Linked DNA regions of Homo sapiens: regions 2, 3, 4 and 5 are each linked to region 1. Evidence: promoter capture Hi-C in human tissues and cell types (Jung and others, 2019). All regions are on one chromosome and are shown on one strand. The core of a region is centred on a gene start or on the middle of the fragment in contact, and the rest is flanking DNA. Distances in the headings are between cores, read along the strand shown.

Region 1 (3,776 bases), core at 789-3,288:
GGAAAAAATTAGCAGTAAAGCAGGAGAGGGTTAATTCTTAGAAAGGTACACAATCCCACCATCCTTCCCACCTCTGGTGCCTACTGCAAGTAAAGAGTCTGGTCTTCTCCCGACAGGCTCTGGCTGGGCCTGTGGTCTCATGTGGAGAATAGCCAGCGTGGTCAGTCTGTAGGCAGGGGCCCACTGCTAGCTGCAGGCTCCAGGCTCTGCCCCTCCATCACCCCTTTCCTCCTCTTCATCCGACTGTGCCAAGGGCGTATCTGCTCCATCATCACTTGGATTTGGGCTATGCAGGTTGGTGGAGGAGTCGGAGGAGGAGGAGGAGGAGGTCCTAGATGTGGTCCTGTCTGATGTAGGCACCGGCAGGCTCAGCTCCTCCAAATGGTTGTCCATCCCTGCCCAGAGAGAAAAGCTGGTCAGGCCACAAACAGGGCTTCAGAGAACTCTTAAAGATTATCTGGCCAGGAGTAACTAAAGTCCACAGTGGGGCAGAGACTTGTCCAAAGTGACTTTGCCAATCCAGCAAAGAGCCAGGATTAAGATCACCATCTCCTGACTGCCAGCTCCTTCCACGTCATTACACCATGTCTGGGATCTACAGTCAGGTCAATGAATGGCAAGAGTTCAAGTTCCACCTACATCACTTATTGCTGCTGAGTGGCTTTGAGCAAGTCACTTTCCCTTTCAAGGACTCTGTTCCTCCTCTGCAAAATAAAAGGGATACCTACATCCCCAAAGGGTTTTGGGAATAAAACCTAAGAATGCTTATAAAATGTCTGGCATAGTAAGCCATCAATAAATAGTAGCAGTTTTAATTAAAAGAATATCTATCTTACAAGTTAAGCATATGGGCTTTGGAGTCAGACAGACATGAATTCCAGTTTATCTACCTTCTGGCTACAATGTGACTTAACTTCTCTGAGCCTAATTTCCTGCTTATAAAATAGAGATTATATCACCTACCCTGACAGGACGTTGTAAGGATTGAGATAATATATGTAAAGTACTTTAGTACAGTATTGGAACCTACTAAAGTACTCAATACATATTAATATCATTATAATGACTAAAACTACTTAAGTTGCCAAATATAAAAATTACAATTTTACATTATTTTAATTATAGTGACTAATTATATTAATATAACAAATGTAAAATTAAAGAAGAGATTGACCGTTCCCAGAATTTTGGATTAGAGATGTGTAACCCAGTTCTCCCTCAGGGTCAACTTCCCTAAAATCAGAACAGGCAGCTGTTTCATTGGTAGAAACACCCACTTCCAGCCCTTACTTGTGTACTTCCCCAGCCCAGCCTTGTAGCCTCGTTTCAGAGCCTGACATCCGGCTCTGGCTGACTGGCACTGAAGTCCCCAAAGCAGAGGGGCATACCAGACGACTGGGGGGTTGGTGGAGGATCTTCGCAAGGCAAGAACACATCTGCTGCATCCGGGTCCCCAAGGTCAATAAGTTCTACTTGCTCCAGTGTGTCCACATTCACTTCCATGGATGAGATACTACCTATGGGGGCTGCGGATCAAGAAGTGGGCAAGTCAGGAGGACCCAAGCTGCACACCAGGACAGTGAGAGTTACATGTCAGGTCCCAAGTTAGAAGCATAGAGGGCCAAGAAAACCAGAGGGGAGAGAGTGCCACAAGATTCAGGACCCACAGGACATCCTCCCTACCCTACCCCAGTCCCTCTTCTCAGGACTTGGGACTTACGTCTCTGCGACTCGAGATGCAGATGGGACAGAGGAAAGACAAACTCTGTCTCTGGCTGTAAAATGTCCTCGAAGAATTTTTGCCGCTCCCGAAGGCGGAGCTGCTGGCGCTCCAGGGCGGCCCGAGGATTTGGGTCCATGTCAGCTCCTGCGGGTAGAGGAGCAAAACAAGTACAGCTGCAAAGTCGAAAGAGAAGACAGAGGGGACCTGGGCTTGGGGCGCCCCACTGCAGCCAGCATCCCAACAGTGGGGCCCCTGGCTCCGGCCTGGACACCTCTGCCCTTGGTGACCTCTTTCCCCTTCCCTGAAACCAAGTGTGTCCCACAAACCAAGTCTCATGCAGAGGCGGGGCTTGCCCTAAGCTCCACAAAGGGGATGCCAGTTCCAGGCACCACAAGAGAGATACTCTGTATTCAGGGAACACAGCCAATGCCCAACTCTCCATATCATGCCCTCCTGAGAGGGGTTGGAGGGATTGGTTCAGCACAAATGGAGGAGGTACGTTTTCCCCTTAATTGGCCCCGCTTGCCTCAGAAGGCCAGGGACAGGATAGGATAGAGACAGAGATCTCAGGGTGGAGGGTTCCCTTCCTCCAGTGCTGCAGCCCACCCCTTCCCATCCTTCAAAACCCAGACAAAGGCTAAAGCAACTCCTCCCGCGCCCCTCCTTTTCTCTCCACCCACACAAACACGTACACACGCATGTGCCATCTACCCCAAACCCTTGCTCTGAAGTCACAGGCCTGACTTCCAGACTAGGCTCTGCCCCTAAGGAAATCACCTTTCTGGTCTTAGTCTCCCCATCTGAAAATGGCATAACCAACCTACCTGCCTCAAATACAAGACCCTGCTTGTGAAGGTGAGCTATTTAGGAGACTACCATCTTTCCTTTGAACTCCAACAGCTCTTTATGCGTCCCCCTCCTGGGACACATCTCACTGACTTATCTCCCCATTAGTCAGTGAGGAGCAATTGGAAAGGCGGGTTCTGGGTCCAGTTCAGAGCAGGCCTCCTGACCCCTAGGGCTGAGAAGCTGAGACCCTGCCAGAGCACTGAGGCTATGGGCCAGCCCAGGTCGGTGCATTCATTCCCATTCGCTCATCTCCTTCCCGGCGTTCTGCTCTGAGCCCATCACCAGAGGCAAGGGAGTTTCTAGCTTGAGGATCAGACGTCATCCTCCGCAGACTGCCTTCCCCACCTCATCTGCACCCAGCGTATCCCAGACCCTGGCCAGCTCCACGGGCGCCACAGAGGTGGAGAGGGACCCAACCCCGACTGGCCAAGGCAGGGCCACGGAAGTCTGGGGAGACCGTGCGGCCGCGGGCTGGCGGCGGAGGAGCGAGGCGCTGACGCCGATTCCCGGGAAAGGCTCTTAGAGCTGCCGCCCAGGTCACAACGCTAAAAATACCCAGGGCCCCTGGAGCCTGTGCTCCAGCAGCGAGGAGGGGGAGGGAGAGGCCAAGGTGGGGGAGCTGACGGGGGCCAGGGGCTCTGGGACACCCCCTCTCTTTTCCCCTCCCCCTAACCCCACCGATCTCACGAGACTGAAGGAGCTGTCCCCCGGGGGGCCGCGGAGCCCAGAGCTGGAGAAAGGGAGTTGTTTACGCGACCTATAGGTACTGGAAAGGGGGTGAAGAGATTTGGGGGCAGGAGGCTGCCAGGGGCCGGGCAGGAGCCAGCGAAATGGAGAACTCCCTCTCGGTCTCAGCCCCACCCGCACTGGAGCCAGCAAGAGGGAAAAAATTCCCTAAAAAGGGACACGAGGCGTCGGCGGAGGACGGGGGGAGGGCGCTCCCCCAAGGCCGTTCCCCTCGTGCTCCGGTCCCCTCCGCGGTCCACCGCGGCACCTGCGCCCACCGCCGCCGGAGCCCCTACCTGCAGCGCTGGCGCCCCCTCTGACTCAGTCCGTCCGCTCCAGCGAGGCCGCGGCGGGGGCGTGGGAGCGAGCCGCGCCGGCCGGGGTGGGGCTGCGCCTCCAGGGCTCCCGGGGGACCGACGGGCCCTGGGAGCCGGGAACGAGGAAGAGGCGGGAGGCGGAAGTGGGGGAGGGGCGGTGG
Region 2 (3,776 bases), core at 1,277-3,776, 500 kb before region 1:
ATCTGAGTGCTTAAGCAAGGGATCAATGTCATACACCTAAGAACTGACAACCTGGGGTGTAAACTCTTGTCTGTCAGACACAAGAGTCTAAGTACATAACTACCGGGCTATAAAGCCCACCTTCCACTCTTCCATGAACAGTCTACGGATTCCCTAATAGCAGCCACAGAATTGCTTCAACCTCTACTTCCTGTTAAAGAGGGTTCATAATAGTGCCAGTCTGACAGGTTGTTAAGGTTAAATAAATTACCTAGAATTCGGATGACCAGTTGTAAGGTTTCCCAGGGACTGAGTGGGTTCCCAGGAATGGTTTCAAAATGGGGATGGCTGGATGTGTGGCTCACGCCTGTAATCCCAGCACTTTGGGAGCCCAAGGCAAGAGGATCACTTGGGTCCAGGAGTTCAAGATCAGCCTGGGCAACATGGTGAGACCTGTCTCTACAAAAAATACAAAACTTAGCTGGACATGACATGGTACCACCTGCCTGTAGTCCTAGCTACTCAGGAGGCTGAGGTGGGAAGATCGCTTGAGCCCAAGAGGTGGAGGCTTCAGTGAGCCGTGATTGTACCACTGCACTCCAGCCTGGGCAACAGAGCAAGACCCTGTCTCTAAAAATATAAATAGGCGGCCGGGCGCGGTGGCTCACGCCTGTAATCCCAGCACTTTGGGAGGCCAAGGCAGGTGGATTGCCTGAGGTCAGGCGTTCGAAACCAGCCTGGCCAACATAGCGAAACCATATCTCTACTAAAAATACAAAAAATTAGCTGAGCGTAGTGGTGGGTGCCTGTAATCCCAGCTACTTGGGAGGCTGAGGTAGGAGAATTGCTTGAACCTGGTAGGCGGAGGTTGCAGTGAGCCGAGATTGCGCCATTGCACTCCAGCCTGGGCAACAAGAGAGAAACTCCATCTTAAATAAATAAATAAAAATAAATAAATAGGCTGGGCATGGTGGGTCACACCTGTAATCCCAGCACTTTGGGAGGCTAAGGCAGGCGGATCACTTGAGGGCAGGAGTTCAAGACCAGCCTGGCCAAAATGGCAAAACCCTGTCTCCACTAAAAATACAAAAATTAGCCAGGTGTGGTGGCACATGGCTGTAGTCCCAGCTACTTGGGAGGCTGAGGCAGGAGAATCACTTGAACCCAGGAGGCAGAGGTTGCAGTGAGCCAAGATCACACCACCGCACTGCAGCCTGGTGACAGAGCACGACTGTGTCTCAAAAAAATTAATTAATTAATTAAATAAAAAAGGAAATGGAACTATTTTTGTGAATCTGTGGATTATATCAGAAAAAAAAGACACAATGGGGAAAGTCCTAGGCAAATCAGGATGAGTTAGTCATCCTTCCTAGATGAGTGTTTGGTGCTAAATACATGCTCAGCAGACATGATTATTGCTTCCCCTTTCTTTCGTCCATTTGGCAACAAAAAGGTGGCAAGCACCCACTCTGTGCCCTGTCCTAGGGTCCGGGAACCCTGTAAGCAGTAGATGGAGGTGGGGGTGGGGGTGGGGGCGGGGATGCTGTTCAGAGCACCTTGCTCCAAGGGTTCATTAAAAAATCCACCAGTGGACCGGGCGCGGTGGCTCATGCCTTTAATCCCAGCACTTTGGGAGGCCGAGGCGGGCGGATCACAAGGTCAGGAGATCGAGACCATCCTGGCTAACACGGTGAAACCCCGTCTCTACTAAAAATACAAAAAAAATTAGCCGGGCGTGGCAGCGTGCGCCTGTAGCCCCAGCTGCTGGGGAGGCTGAGGCAGGAGAATGGCGTGAACCCGGGAGGCGGGGCTTGCAGGGAGCCGAGATCGCGCCACTGCACTCCAGCCTGGGGGACAGAGCGAGACTCCGTCTCAAAAAATAAAAATAAAAAAAATAGAAAAAACAATCCACCAGCCACGATAAATGGCAGACCTCCTTCTGATTTCAGCCGGTGTGGTATGTTCCTGGGCTGACAGCACTTGTCTAGTCTTGCTTTCCCAAGTGGGAAAGGTCTCTGGGACCTTAAGGTCCCCAGGTGGTGACACAGAGACAGGTAGGGGGGCCCATAGCAAAGCCAGGCAAGGAGGTCCCGAGATGATTGTGGGTGGCAGGGAAAGAAAAAATATTCCTTGACTTTGTGCCTGGACCTGGTTGTAATAAAGGCCCAAGAGGTAGTTCCTATCATCGTGCACATTTCGCTGAAGGAAGAAACTGAGGGTCAGTGACCCAAGTGAAGTGACTTGCCCAAGATCATGCAGGAAGACATGGATAATTGTAATTTGAACCAAGGTCCCAGCAAAGTGGGATTGTTGGGGCTGAGTGGGCCGGCTCCTGCATTTCCTTCCCTCTCCCTGGGCTTGGGTCTCCCACTTGTCCAGACAGCGGCCGGGCTTGTCACGGGGCTCTGTGCAGCCTTTTCCACTCTCCCGGCTGCCAGCGTCCCGCCCCGTCCCCTCCCAGCCCCCAAGGGAGGAGGGGAGAGCTGCAGAGAGGAGGAGGGGTCGGGGAGGCCGGCTTTATAAAGGCGGCTGGAACAACCCTGCCCGCCAGACCCCGTCGCCCGGATCCCCTGAGCTGCCCGCCATCCCACGTGACCGCGCCGCCCCCCAGCTCCACCGCTGAGTGAGTTGGGGCGCGTCCCTATCCCGTTCCCAGTCCCTCGCCGAGCCGCGTGGTGCACTGAAGCCGGCGTGGGGAGGAGAGCCGATGAAGGAGAACGCTAACATGGGGGCTCCAGGCAGAATCTCTAATGGGAGAGATTTAGGACCTGAGGGAGCCGGGAGACCCGGGAGCCCACGGTCTGGTCGGCCACCTCCTCTCCTCCCCGGGCGCGAGGCCTAGGAGACCGCAAGCCACCCTCCAAGAATGCGCGTGCAGTCGTTGCCGTGGCAACGTGCAAGCCTGCATGGGCCCACCGCTAAAGGAAAGGGGAGGTTGTTGGGGGTGTGGGGGCTGGTCCCCTGGAGGTCCAAACTCATCACGCGGCGGTAGCACGAGGGAACTGGGAACGTCCCCTCCCCCGTGTCCCAAATCCTCTGGGAGCCAGAACGCAAGTCGCATCGCCTCTCTGAGCCTCAGTTTCCACATCTGCCATATGGAGGCAAGATTATTGGTTCCAAGTTCCCCGAAGAGTTATCTGGAGGGTAACGATCCAGGCTAGTTCCCACTTATGGTTGGACGTCCAAGGAATGGGTTTAAGCGGCTCAGATAACTCCTGCGACCCCACCCCACCCCCAGGCCCGCTCGCCATGGCCCTCTTCGGGGCCCTCTTCCTAGCGCTGCTGGCAGGCGCACATGCAGAGTTCCCAGGCTGCAAGATCCGCGTCACCTCCAAGGCGCTGGAGCTGGGTAAGGCGCAGGGGCAGACAGGGACGGACGGGAGCGGACGGGGTTGGGGTCGCCCCAACAGTGGGCACGGGAGCTAAGTAAGGGTTTCTCTGCTGCTTCAGTGAAGCAGGAGGGGCTGCGCTTTCTGGAGCAAGAGCTGGAGACTATCACCATTCCGGACCTGCGGGGCAAAGAAGGCCACTTCTACTACAACATCTCTGAGTAAGTGGGGGGCGGGGCCTCGCGATCCGGGGCGGGGCCTCGGCGGTGGAGGCGGGGCCCGAGAAATCTCAGGGTCTCGGGAGACTGGAGGCTGAGTGGGATGGGGCGTGGCCAAATCGATGAGGCAAGACTTAAGAAACCGGATGGGGCCGAAAAGATAAAGGCCAAGCCAGTCATCATAGGCGGGACCAGGCAGATGGGCGTGGCCTTGAAAATGTAGAGGGGGCCAAGAAGGAAGCAGGACCAG
Region 3 (3,776 bases), core at 658-3,157, 470 kb before region 1:
ACTTGGCCTGGAGGAACTTACAAATGTGGAAGGCTGAGAGAAGGACCTCAGCTGTGGGGAACTCCATAGCTAGGATAGGCAGTGGAAGGAAATGAGGATCCACCAGGATGGTACAGACTCTCTCCCATGCTGGATTAAACTTCTTGAATACTTGGAACATCTGGGCCAGGCCTTCAGTGTCCTCCTTGGCAGGGATGGCAAAGTAGACTGCTCGGGCAAGATGACCCTCCAGCTGCACCCGAGGTCCATCCACCAGGAAGGTATATAAGACCTTACCCCTTGGGTTATAGGTCCGGTGGATAAATAAGATCTCAGGGAAATGGTCAAAGACACTTTGCATAAAGCAGCTCTGGTAGTTGAAGGTATCTAACTGGGCAGTCTTGTTAACCTGGTGCAGCAGCATAGGTGGGCTTGAGTCCTTAATCAGGAGCCCATTCAGCATTGTCAGGGCCATGGGAGAGATGGGAGCTGTCCAAATGCCAAGGTCAAAATACTTTCTTTGCAGGGCAGCTGACCACGGGGCTTTGAGTCTCTCAAGCATCAAGTAAGTTGAGGCTGGAGGCTAGACAATCATTCCCAGATCTTTTTTCCAAAGATGGGCCTATGGAGAGTAACAGAGGTTTAAGGAGACAGCAGGGACCTGGCTCTTCAATTATTCATCCACACAATATTTGTTGAACACTTACTATATGTCAGCACTGTTCTAGGGGAAGATACACAATAAACATGTAAACAAATAAGCAAATATATATCCAATAATGAAGCTTACAAAGACCATAAACCTGAGTAACATGTCAGAGAGTAAGCTGGGGAAGGGAGGGATACTTTAGTTAAAGTGGTAATGGAAGGCCTCTCAGGGGAGAAGGATGACATTGGAGCTGAAATCTAAATGATAAGAAGTTAGCTATGGAAAGATATGGTTCCAGGGGATTTAAATAGGTATGGCCAGAGCTGCATATGGCCTTTTAAAAAAATAGCATTCTAGCCAGGTGCAGTGGCTCACACCTGTAATCCCAGTACTTTGGGAGGCCAAGGTGGGCAGATAACTTGAGGTTGGGAGTTCGAGACCAGCCTGGCCAACATGGTGAAAACCCGTCTCTACTAAAAATACAAAAAGAATTAGCCGGGTATGGTGGCCCATGCCTGTAGTCTCAGCTACTCGGGAGGCTGAGGCAGGAGACCTGCTTGAACCCAGGAGGCTGAGGTTGCAGTGAGCCGAGATTGCGCCACTGCACTCCAGCTCTGGGTGACAGAGTGAAACTCTGTCTCAAAAAATAAAATAAAATAAAAATACGATTTTATATTTATAAATGACTGATTGGCATCCATTCTTTCCTTTGGTCCTGGTATGTATAAGAGAACTGCAATTGCTCCAAACTTGCTGTGTTATCTTGGGCAAGTCAATGACCCTCTCTGAGCCTCAATCCCTTCCACCATAAAATATGGCTAACAAATGTGCATAGCTTCTCCTGCCTCTACTATATCCCTCTTTTAGCAGCAATACTCTATTCCATTGTTTCCTCTATTTGGCCCCAGACCGAGTTACTGTCCTCATTTTACAGATGATAAACTAAGGCTCAAAGAAGCTAAGTGACTTGCCCACCATTACTCTGTAAGTAGCTGAAAGTTGAGTCTTTGGTTCGGGATCCTGACTGCTGTCCACAGTACCTGGGGTCCAAAAACCAACAGAGGGAATACGGCCTTTGACCTCTCACCTCTAACCTGGGTGGGAGATGTGGATGTCTGACATTCCCAGAGTCCAGCTGGAGCCGGATGAGAAGAAAACCTCCCTCCCATCCCTTTGGGAGCTGTGTGACGGCTAACTGCGGTGATCCGCTGTCTCACACTTTCACCCCTTCAGGAAGCACTCACCCACAGCCAGGCTCCGTCGCCATTTCTCCCTATTTGACCCTGCCTCCGACTCTGACTGACATCCAAACTCACCAACCACAGCGTCAGCATCGCAGTGACTCGGACCAATGTCTGAGGAATTCGCTTTCAGGCTTTAGCACCACGGACCAATCGTAGCGTGACGATTCGCGGGCGGGCCGTGTTGCCAGGGTTACAAGGAGCTGGCTGGAGGTAAAGATACTTGCATCTGGGAGAGCTGAGCCTTGAAGCTGGAGCTCCGGGGCTTCCCTTCAGGCTAGGCGACTGGAAGGACACGTTACTATGGAAACTCCCTCAAAAGCAGAAAATGAAAAGGAAAATAAATAGCAGTTATATATATATTTTTTCTTTTTCTTTTTTTGAGATGGAGTCTCGCACTGTCGCCTGGGATGGAGTGCAGTGGCAAGATCTCGACTCACAGCAACCTCCGCCTCCCAGGTTCAAGCGATGATTCTCCTGCCTCAGCCTCCTGAGTAGCTGGGATTACAGGCACCCGCCACCACGCCCAGTTAATTTTTTGTATTTTTAGTAGAGACGGGGTTTCACCCTGTTGGCCAGGCTGGTCTCGAACTCCTGGCCTCGTGATTCGCCCACCTCAGCCTCCCAAAGTGCTGGGATTACAGGCGTGAGCCACCGCGGGTTTTGTTTTGTTGTGTGTGTGTGTGTGAAACTCTAAAGCCCCTGGAATTTAGGAAACAGTGCATATATAGTCATAACGCATATTCTACCTTATGGGGAAACTGAGTTCCAGGTCTCAAATTCTACTCCTCCTTCGGGGATCAGGAGCCCAACTTTTAGAGCTGAGGAAATCCAGATCCCCTTAAACAAGCCAAAACTTGGCATTCTCTAGCCCAACCCCCTCCAGTATTCTACAGAATGATGCCATGACTTATTTAGGGTCCTACTACAGTAGTGCAAGGGCCTACTAACTGGTCTCTTGTCCTCAGTTCCCTTGAAGATGGCAGACTTAGAAAACTGGGTGTTTACCAGGCCTTGGAGGATTAAGATTACCAACTAGCAACATCAAATCAGTGTTGGTACTTACGCATCGAAAATGTTATTGGGCTGGGTGCAGTAGGTCATCCCTTTAATCCCAGCACTTTGAGAGGCTGAGGCAGGTGGATTGCCTGAGATCGGGAGTTCAAGACCAGCCCGACCAACATGGTGAAACCCCATCTCTAAATACAAAAAATTAGGCAGGCGTGGTGGCACATGCTTATAATCCCAGCTACTCAAGAGGCTGAGGCAGAATCGCTTGAACCCAGTAGGCAGAGGTTGCAGTGAGCCGAGATTCTGCCATTGCACTCTAGCCTGGGCAACAAGCAACAAGAGCGAAACTCCATCTCAAAACAAAAAACAAAAAGGTGCTTATGTAAACCTAGAGGGGAAATCTGGGATTAGAACAGGCCAACATGCTAATTTTTACAGAGGAAACTGAGGTCAAAGAAATTGCCCACAGTTCCCCAGCAAGTTGCTGGCAGTCAAGTCTAAGATTCAGGTTTTTCCCCCACACCCTCCAGTCTATTTGGCCTCTTCCCGCTAGAATATAAGGAAACCTGAAATCAACCTTGAAGGCTTAGTTGTAGGAAGGAGGCAAATTAAGACGCAGATTGCCAAATCCTTGAATGTGAGGCATCAGGTTCTATTTGGCTCCACAACCCCATTAGGTTGCTAATACTTAATTTTCTTTTCTTTTTTTTTTGTTGTTGTTTTTTGCTTGAGATAGAGTCTCACTCTGTCACCCAGGCTGGAGTGCGGTGGCACGATCTAGGCTCACTGCAACCTCCGCCTCCTGGGTTCAAGCGATTCTCCTGCCTCAGCCTCCCAAGAAGCTGGGATTACAGGTGCGCCACCACGCCTGGCTAATGTTTGTATTTTTAGTAGAA
Region 4 (3,776 bases), core at 422-2,921, 460 kb after region 1:
GAGTCAGGAATTAGGGAAGGGCAGTTCTCATTTGGGGTCTCTCATGCAGGGTCAGCAAGATGGTAGCTGGGGCTGGAATCCTCTAAAGCCTTCTTCCTCGAATGTCTGGCAGCTGGGCTGCCTGACTCAAATGGCTGGGTGATGGAACTGCTAGAGCAAGCTGGCACCTCTTTCCACTTTCTTAGCAGCCTTTTCATGTGTGCTGCTGTGAGCTTCCTGAGAGCGTGGTGGCCTCAGAGTAGTTGGCTTCTTCCCTGTCAGTTCAAGGCTCCAAGAGCGAGTGTTTCCAGAGACCAAGGTGGAAGCTGCAAGGCCTATTATGACCTAACCTTGGAAGTCACATCGTGTCCCTTCCTCTGTCCTCTGTTGGTCAGAGCAGTCACAGAGCCTGCCCGAATTCAAAGAGAGAGAGCAGATACACCTCCGCCTCTCAGTGGAGGATTGCCAAAGAATTTGTGCCTGTCTTTTAAGTTGTTACAAGAAGATTTTTCTCTCCGTTAATTTATGAATTCCATGCAATCACAAAGGACTAGTAGAATTTTCTTCTTTAAATTCATGATAAGTCAGAAAAAAATGAGAACAACGACATGAGAGAATCTGGTGTATAATAAAGTCTGGGGCAAAGAGAGATTATTTAATAAGAGGTGTTGGGTTGGCCAGGTTAGAGTTAAACTTGAATCCTACCTTGCTTCTTATTTTAAAGTAAGTTCTGAGTGGATCACAGTTTGGAATGTAAAAAGCGAAACCATTAAGTTCTAGAAGAACACATGGATTAACTATCTTGCAGTGGGGAAGGTATTCTTATGTGAAGGGAAAAAAATGTTACAGAAGTCGTTAAAGGAAAAGTTAGAGAAGTTTGATTTCAAAAGATTAAAAACCCTTATTAAAGATGTTCAGCTTTACCCACAACTAAGCAGCTAAGGCAGTGAGATAGTGTTTTATTCCATATTGGCATACATGAAAATTTAAGACCCAAAGTTGGTACAGTTGTAGGAAAATAGGCTCTGTCAATAACTATTCAGCTTTTTTGGAAAGCATTTTGGCAGTAACAATCAGATTTTATTTCTTTTTTTGTTTTGTTTTGTTTAAGAGATGGGGTCTCCCTATGTTGCCCAGGCTGGTCTCAAACTCCTGGGCTCAAGTGACCTTCCCACCTTGGCCTCCCAAAGTGCTGGGATTATAAGCATGAGCCACTGCACCTGGCCAGTCAGGTTTTAAAATGCATGTATCTTTGGATACAGCAGTCCCTTGCACAAGGATGTTCATCATGGCATCACTTATTTACAAACTGGAAACAATGAAAAATACCTCTTGATAGGAAATTGGTAAAATAAATTATGCTACATCCAACTTAGTGAATACCCTGCACCCACTGAAAACAGTGAGGTGGAACAGATGAACTTATGTAATGAGCGCCCAGACATCTGACTGTTTTGTTTTTAGTGACTGTCTTTGGAGAGAAGGACTAGATCTGAATGAGGAAGATATATACACACATGCACTTTTTTGAACCCACAGATGCAGAATATATTGTATGGATGCACATAACTTTTTTCCAACATTTTATTATGAAAATGTTCAAAATATAGGAAAGTTGAAAGATTTGTACATTGAACACCCATAGACCTACCATCTAAATTCTACAATTAGTATTATTACATTGCCTTATCACTATTTAGCCATCTGTTGGTCTGTATTATTGTGTTTGATGCACTTAAAAGTAAATTGCAAACGTCTTTACATTTCACCCCATGTCAGCATTATATCATTAGAGTTCAGTAGTTGTTGGGTTTTTTTTTCCCCCTTAAAGTAGATAATTTTTTAATCTGTCAAGGGAAAAGTTTCAGGAAACCTTTTCTTTGCTTGAAAGAGCTCAGTATAGGAGAGCGCAGTACAGCATGATAGAACTAGATGAGATCAGGATCTGGAGTCCCATGAACGAACGCCCGCCTATTTGAATCCTGGGTCTGCCCCTTAATACTGGCGGTACCTGGCCCAAGTTCCTTTACCCTTCTGAGCCAGCATGTTTCATCCATGAAAAGGGCTAGGATTGTTGTGAGGATTTAAGAAGACATAAAGTAACCAGCACAGAGTAGGTGTTCAGCAAATTGGAGATCACTTCTCAAACTACTGCGTGGCATGTGGGTGGCCCATAAGACGTGACTGAAACCTCTGAAATGGTCTTTCCCTTCAGAGCACTCTGCTATTTGGTCCTGAAGCAGTACACAGAAGCAGTGAAGGACTGCACAGAAGCCCTCAAGCTGGATGGAAAGAACGTGAAGGCATTCTACAGACGGGCTCAAGCCCACAAAGCACTCAAGGTAAAAAAAAATCCTGGCCAAAAGGTCCCAACATAGCTACAGAGATTTATGCCAGTGTCACCATTTACAGGGTGTAGCCAAGCTGAGACAATATCTGCAGCTTTTCCTTCTCATCCTGGGCCCAGGATAACTCAGAGCAGGCCTGTGGGCTGGGGTTTGAAAACACTTTGCTGCCTCAGCAGCTATCCCCACCCCAGTCCGGGAACCTTCCCCCACACTCCTGTCTTTTCTTCTATTAGGACTATAAATCCAGCTTTGCAGACATCAGCAACCTCCTACAGATTGAGCCTAGGAATGGTCCTGCACAGAAGTTGCGGCAGGAAGTGAAGCAGAACCTACACTAAAAACCCAACAGGGCAACTGGAACCCCTGCCTGACCTTACCCAGAGAAGCCATGGGCCACCTGCTCTGTGCCCGCTCCTGAAACCCAGCATGCCCCAAGTGAGCTCTGAAGCCCCCTCCTCAATCCCTTGATGGCCTCCCACCCTGTAAGAGGCTTTGCTTGTTCAAATTAAACTCAGTGTAGTCAAACACAGACATGGTTGTTGCACCAGAAAGGTCCCCACTAGAGCTAAGCGTGAAGCTGAAGCTCTGTCCCTATTCCCCCAGCCCAGCTAGCTGATCACACCAACAGATCCTCATCAGCAAAGCATTTGGCTTTGTCCTGCCCAAGTGGGCTGCAGACTGAGTGCTGCCCTTGTAGCTTCCCCAGACCCCAACTCACTGCAGTTCATCTGAACAACCTGAGCTCCTGGGCCGGGGTGGAAGGAGGGGGATAAACCTAAGGCCCTGATCCAAAGCAGCCTGTTGAGCTGGTTCTCCAGGGCTGCAGTCTCTCCAGGTGTACAGCTGCTGTCCCTGCCCTGTCCTGTCCTTGCACAGTCTCCTATGTCTGAGCCCCAGTGCCTTCTGTTCGGGCCCTCCTTTGGTGGGAAGGCAGAGCCCTGACCCTTGAATGGTTGTCCTTGACTCTGTGCTGCTGCCTTCTGCAGAGAGGCACCTAAGCTGTTTAAAGAGCCCAGTGATTGTGGCTGCTCCTCCTAGAGGTGGGAGGGGGCAAGAGGCCTCCTTGGTCAGTGTCCATGCTTTCTGGGCAGGGACTTGGTTTTTTGTTCCAACAGTGGCCTTCTCCGGGCTTCATAGTTCTTTGTAATATGTTGAAGTTAATTTGAATTGACTGATTTTGTTGAACTGTGTGTTTAAGCTGTTGCATTAAAAAGCTTTCTTCTACATCAATATCTGCTGTGCTTTCATTTATGCCTTTTCAGCTTTGCACCTGGAACTCTGTAGTAATAATAAAAGTTATTGCTTATTGGGCATTCATTCATTTGTTGAACAAATTTATTGACATGTCTGCATGGGCCAGGCACTGTGAATAGTGCTAGGGAGATAGATAGATAGCAGTGAATAGACACAGCCCCTGCTCTCAGAGGGCTGGTAGTCCAGTGGGAAGGC
Region 5 (3,776 bases), core at 434-2,933, 450 kb before region 1:
CATATGGCAGCCATCAGCTGGAGCTGATTAGATGGCATCTACTCTCCATTTGGCCCATTTCACACTTCTGTTGTCCCTAGCACAAAGACCTGGTGTTGGTTGCTATTTCATCATTCTTTTTCTTAAAGTAAAATTCAAAGTTAAAACTTTCTTACATTGGGTTGTTTCACCTAATCCCTGAAGGCATTTGAGTTTTCAACTCCTGTCTTAACCTCTAAGCCTGACTTCTCATCTGTCAAATCTTCTCATCTGTCAAATGCAAAAAAATAACATTTATCTATAATTCTGAAAAAAAAGCCCTGCAGGGTAAAGCATGCATAGAGAACACTGCCTGGCACATGGAAAGTGTTTGAAAACGGTTAATATAAGGAGCTCAAAAACCATTTACAAAATGAATGAATAGACCAGGCATAGTGGCTCATGCCTGTAATCCTAACACTTTGAGACGCCGAAAGATCGCTTAGTCCAGGAGTCTGGGAACAGCCTAGCCAACATAACAAGACCCAGTCTGTACAAAATCAAATAATTAGCCAGGCATGGTGGCGTGCACCTCCAGTTCCAACTACTTGAGAGGCTGAGGTGGGAGGATCGCTTGAGCCCAGCAGTTGAAGGCTCAGTGAGCTGATTGTGCCACTGCACTCCAGCCTGGGGGACAGAGTGAGACCCTGTTTCAACAAATATATAAGAACTAAAAACTGAATGAATGAATGAACGAACATTCCAACGACCATGTGACTGTTTTGTAAAGAGGAGACTGATGAAGGAAATTATCGCCAAGGTGTTTTTATCCGTTTATGAAAGCCATACTTTGTATTTGGGTTGCTGCAGCTGCTCAAAACAATGGGAGAAACTGCAGTTATAAATTCCAGAAAAGCCTGTGAATGGAGTGAAAGTGGAGTGGGTGGTCAAAAACCAATGGCCGTGGAGGCTTAGCTCTCTTCACAAGGCACACAGCAGGTGCTCAATGAGTGCCTGTTGAATGAATGGCCACGCAGCCCAATGCGTGCCTATGCACCCCTCCTCCTCCAGGCAGCCCTCCGGAGGTCCAGCCTCCTCCCCACCCTCTTGGCCCGCCCCGCCCCGCCCGCCCTTACAGGATGTCTTCGCGGATGGAGGTGCCATGGTTGAGGTTGTGGAAGCGGACGGAGACGCAGTCCCTGAGAATGAAGGAGCACCTGTTCTCCCTTTTGTAGGCGCTGAAGCACTCCTTGAAGTCCTCATAGGTCTTGAAGCAGCTGCCCAGCTCCATGGCCGCCCCCACAACCCACACTAGGGGCTGGTCCCAGCCCGGGCCCAAGATCACACCAGGGGTCAAAGGTCACACTATGAGGGTTTATAGGCAGGCGTGGGCCCAGAATGCCTTAAGGGTCCGCCCCAACTGGGTGGCCTATTCTGGAACTCAGGGAGGAACCCTAGGCCTGACCGGGTTACAAGAGGAAGGGGGTGTATTTGCTATCTGACAGGGGAAATGACACTCAGTCCATATTATCCAGTCCCGAGGTTCCGCCTCCTCAGCGACATATCCAGTCACACACAGGATTCGCAGATTGGCATTCATTTTCTCCAATTGCTAGAGAAAGAGGGCCACAGCCACCAGCGGACTGACAGGAGTCCTGACCAATCATAACCTAGATTCCTCCTTCCCGGGGTCTGCAGGAGACTTCCGGTTACTAGGGCAATCTGCCGGAAGAGTCAGGTTCTGTGTATGTCTCCGCGTCTTCCGCGGAGCGGGTGTGCAGGGCCTGCAGCATTGAACTAGATGTCGTCCCCGCAGGCCCCAGAAGATGGGCAGGGCTGTGGCGACCGCGGCGATCCCCCTGGGGACCTCCGTAGCGTCTTGGTCACGACCGTGCTCAACCTCGAGCCGCTGGACGAGGATCTCTTCAGGTAGCCGGCAGCTCCTGCCCAGCATCCCCTCCTTTAGGGCAGAAACTTGATCTTGACTGCCGCCGCCCGGGGCCCCTGGCTCCGGGACTAGTATGGCTCTGCGTGGGATGCACCCTCTGCCACGATTAGGAGAGAACTCGCCCCCAACAGAGCTGTCCTCTCTGCTCTGGCTTCCTCCCTTCCTCTCCGCGCTGCGAGGTCTGCACAGCTGAGCAAATATAGTGGTGACCTGAGAGACCCTGCTCGGCAGCCTGCCCTAAGCCTTCACGGGGGAGCTAGCCCAGAGAGGGCAGTGATTTGCCCAAGGGCACACAGCTGATGGATCAGCCTTAAAACCGACGCCGCAGCTCCTTGTGTCTTCAGTATCCTTTTCTTCTCACAATATCCCGCCCCCAGTACCATTTGGTGGGTCTGGTTTCTCATTACTTATTCTGAGGCCTAAGCATGTTTTTTTCTTTCCCAGCATCGCTGAAGTTCTTGACTGCAGCAAGGGTTTCTTTCTTTCTTTGAGGCGGAGTCTTGCTCTGTTGCCCAGGCTGGAGTGCAGTGGTGCGATCTCGGCTCAGTGCAACCTCCGCCTCCCGGGTTCAAGCATTTCTCCTGCCTCAGCCTCCTGATTAGCTGGGACATACAGGCGCGCCACAGCCCAGCTAATTTTTTAACTTCTTTTAGTAGAGACGGGGTTTCACCGTGTTGGCCAGGCTGGTCTCGAACTCCTGACCTTGTAATCTGCCCACCTCTGCCAAAGTGCTAGGATTACAGGCATGAGCCACCGCGCCCAGCCCCCTGCAGCAAGGCTTCTAACAGCTTTGACCTCCAAGGCTTCTCCTGGCTTTACTGGAAGTTATCTTACTTTGAGCTCCCTTCCTTCCACTTAAGGAATTGTAAATAACTTCTTGGAGGGCTATTTGATTTTTGTTTTTGAAGACAAGATCTGGCCCTGTTGTCCAGGCTGGAGTGCAGTGGCACGAACATGGCTCACTGCAACCTCGACCTCCTGGGCCCAAGTGACCCTTCTGCCTCAGTCTCCCGTTTAGCTGGGACCATAAGCGCTTGCCACCACATCCAGCTAACTTTTTTATTTTTAGTAGACATGAGGCCCCACTTTGGAGCCCAGGCTGGTTTTGAACTCATGGGCTCAGGCGATCCTCCCACCTCGGCTTCCCAAAGTGCTGGGATTGATTACAGGCGAGAGCCACCTGCCAGGTCATGGAGGGCTGTTCATAACTCATTGTTACAGAAAATGCCAAACAGCTGGGACGTGGGAGGCTAGAGACATAATTATTCAGCTTCCAATGGGCCTACATTCTGGGCAAGCATTTTCATCTCTGGGGCCAAGCTGCAGTTTTCTCATCTGTACACTGAAGGAGTTAGACTTGATGTCTGAGGGCTCTTGTTATTTATTCATTTATACATTTATTTAATTTTATTTTTTGAGATGGAGTCTTGCTCTGTCACCCAGGCTGGAGTGCAGTGGTGCGATCTTGGCTCACCTCAACCTCTGCCTCCTGGGTTCAAGTGATTCTCCTGCCTCAGCCTCCTGAGTAGCTGGGATTACAGGTGCATGCCACCACGTCCAGCTAATTTTTGTATTTTTAGTAGAGATGGAGTTTCACCATGTTGGCCAGGCTGCTCTTGAACTCCTGATCTCAAATGATCCACCTGCCTCGGCCTCCCAAAGTGCTGGGATTACAGATGTAAGCCACTGCGCCCGGCCCAGAGGATTTTTATGCATAAGGATATTTGCCTGGGGAAAGGACCTATGGCTTTTACCATATTCTCAAAAGGATCTTAAACCCCAATATGGTGAAGAGATCATGCATTAGAGTCTTAGTGAGGGTAGTAGAATTTGGCCCAGTTCCCAAGTCTTTCCCTCTTTCCCCCTCTCC

What was found. The method cuts DNA at HindIII sites, captures the fragments that hold promoters and counts their contacts. A contact is called where the count stands out against the background at its distance.
Region 2: the fragment with the promoter of PLTP here is called in contact with the fragment with the promoter of DBNDD2 in region 1 in 1 of the 25 tissues and cell types used here (neural progenitor cells).
Region 3: a contact is called between the fragment with the promoter of ZSWIM1 here and the fragment with the promoter of DBNDD2 in region 1, in 3 of the 25 tissues and cell types used here (IMR-90 fibroblasts, aorta and mesendoderm cells).
Region 4: a fragment that was not itself captured here is called in contact with the fragment with the promoter of DBNDD2 in region 1 in 2 of the 25 tissues and cell types used here (dorsolateral prefrontal cortex and spleen).
Region 5: a contact is called between the fragment with the promoter of ACOT8 here and the fragment with the promoter of DBNDD2 in region 1, in 1 of the 25 tissues and cell types used here (dorsolateral prefrontal cortex).

Annotation. Positions count from the first base shown.
Region 1 is chr20:45,406,551-45,410,326 of GRCh38, reverse strand. DBNDD2 (dysbindin domain containing 2) reads right to left here and starts at 2,038. Exons shown (of 3, transcript NM_001048225.4): 1 at 1,721-2,038; 2 at 1,389-1,526; 3 at 1-395. The coding sequence starts at 1,859. The coding sequence ends at 187. SYS1-DBNDD2 (SYS1-DBNDD2 readthrough (NMD candidate)) reads right to left here. Exons shown (of 6, transcript NR_003189.2): 4 at 1,721-1,867; 5 at 1,389-1,526; 6 at 1-395. It overlaps LOC107985404 (a long non-coding RNA gene), which reads left to right and starts at 2,438. Exons shown (of 5, transcript XR_007067608.1): 1 at 2,438-2,578. RefSeq lists an enhancer at 2,901-3,450. The HindIII fragment of the contact is 23,713 bases long and covers 1-3,776 here.
Region 2 is chr20:45,910,905-45,914,680 of GRCh38, reverse strand. It overlaps PLTP (phospholipid transfer protein), which reads left to right and starts at 2,526. Exons shown (of 16, transcript NM_006227.4): 1 at 2,526-2,602; 2 at 3,218-3,328; 3 at 3,430-3,529. The coding sequence starts at 3,229. The HindIII fragment of the contact is 16,312 bases long and covers 1-3,776 here.
Region 3 is chr20:45,879,358-45,883,133 of GRCh38, reverse strand. It overlaps ZSWIM1 (zinc finger SWIM-type containing 1), which reads right to left and starts at 1,907. Exons shown (of 2, transcript NM_080603.5): 1 at 1,873-1,907; 2 at 1-601. The coding sequence starts at 541. RefSeq lists enhancers at 1,818-1,897, 2,148-2,197. The HindIII fragment of the contact is 12,007 bases long and covers 1-3,776 here.
Region 4 is chr20:44,941,998-44,945,773 of GRCh38, reverse strand. TOMM34 (translocase of outer mitochondrial membrane 34) reads left to right here. Exons shown (of 7, transcript NM_006809.5): 6 at 2,195-2,321; 7 at 2,561-3,644. The coding sequence ends at 2,665. Among named protein-coding and RNA genes, the nearest start is that of TOMM34, 17 kb to the left of the region's middle. The HindIII fragment of the contact is 5,142 bases long and covers 1-3,776 here.
Region 5 is chr20:45,855,299-45,859,074 of GRCh38, reverse strand. It overlaps ACOT8 (acyl-CoA thioesterase 8), which reads left to right and starts at 1,683. Exons shown (of 6, transcript NM_005469.4): 1 at 1,683-1,887. The coding sequence starts at 1,760. It overlaps ZSWIM3 (zinc finger SWIM-type containing 3), which reads right to left and starts at 1,461. Exons shown (of 2, transcript NM_080752.4): 1 at 1,095-1,461. The coding sequence starts at 1,249. The HindIII fragment of the contact is 14,613 bases long and covers 1-3,776 here.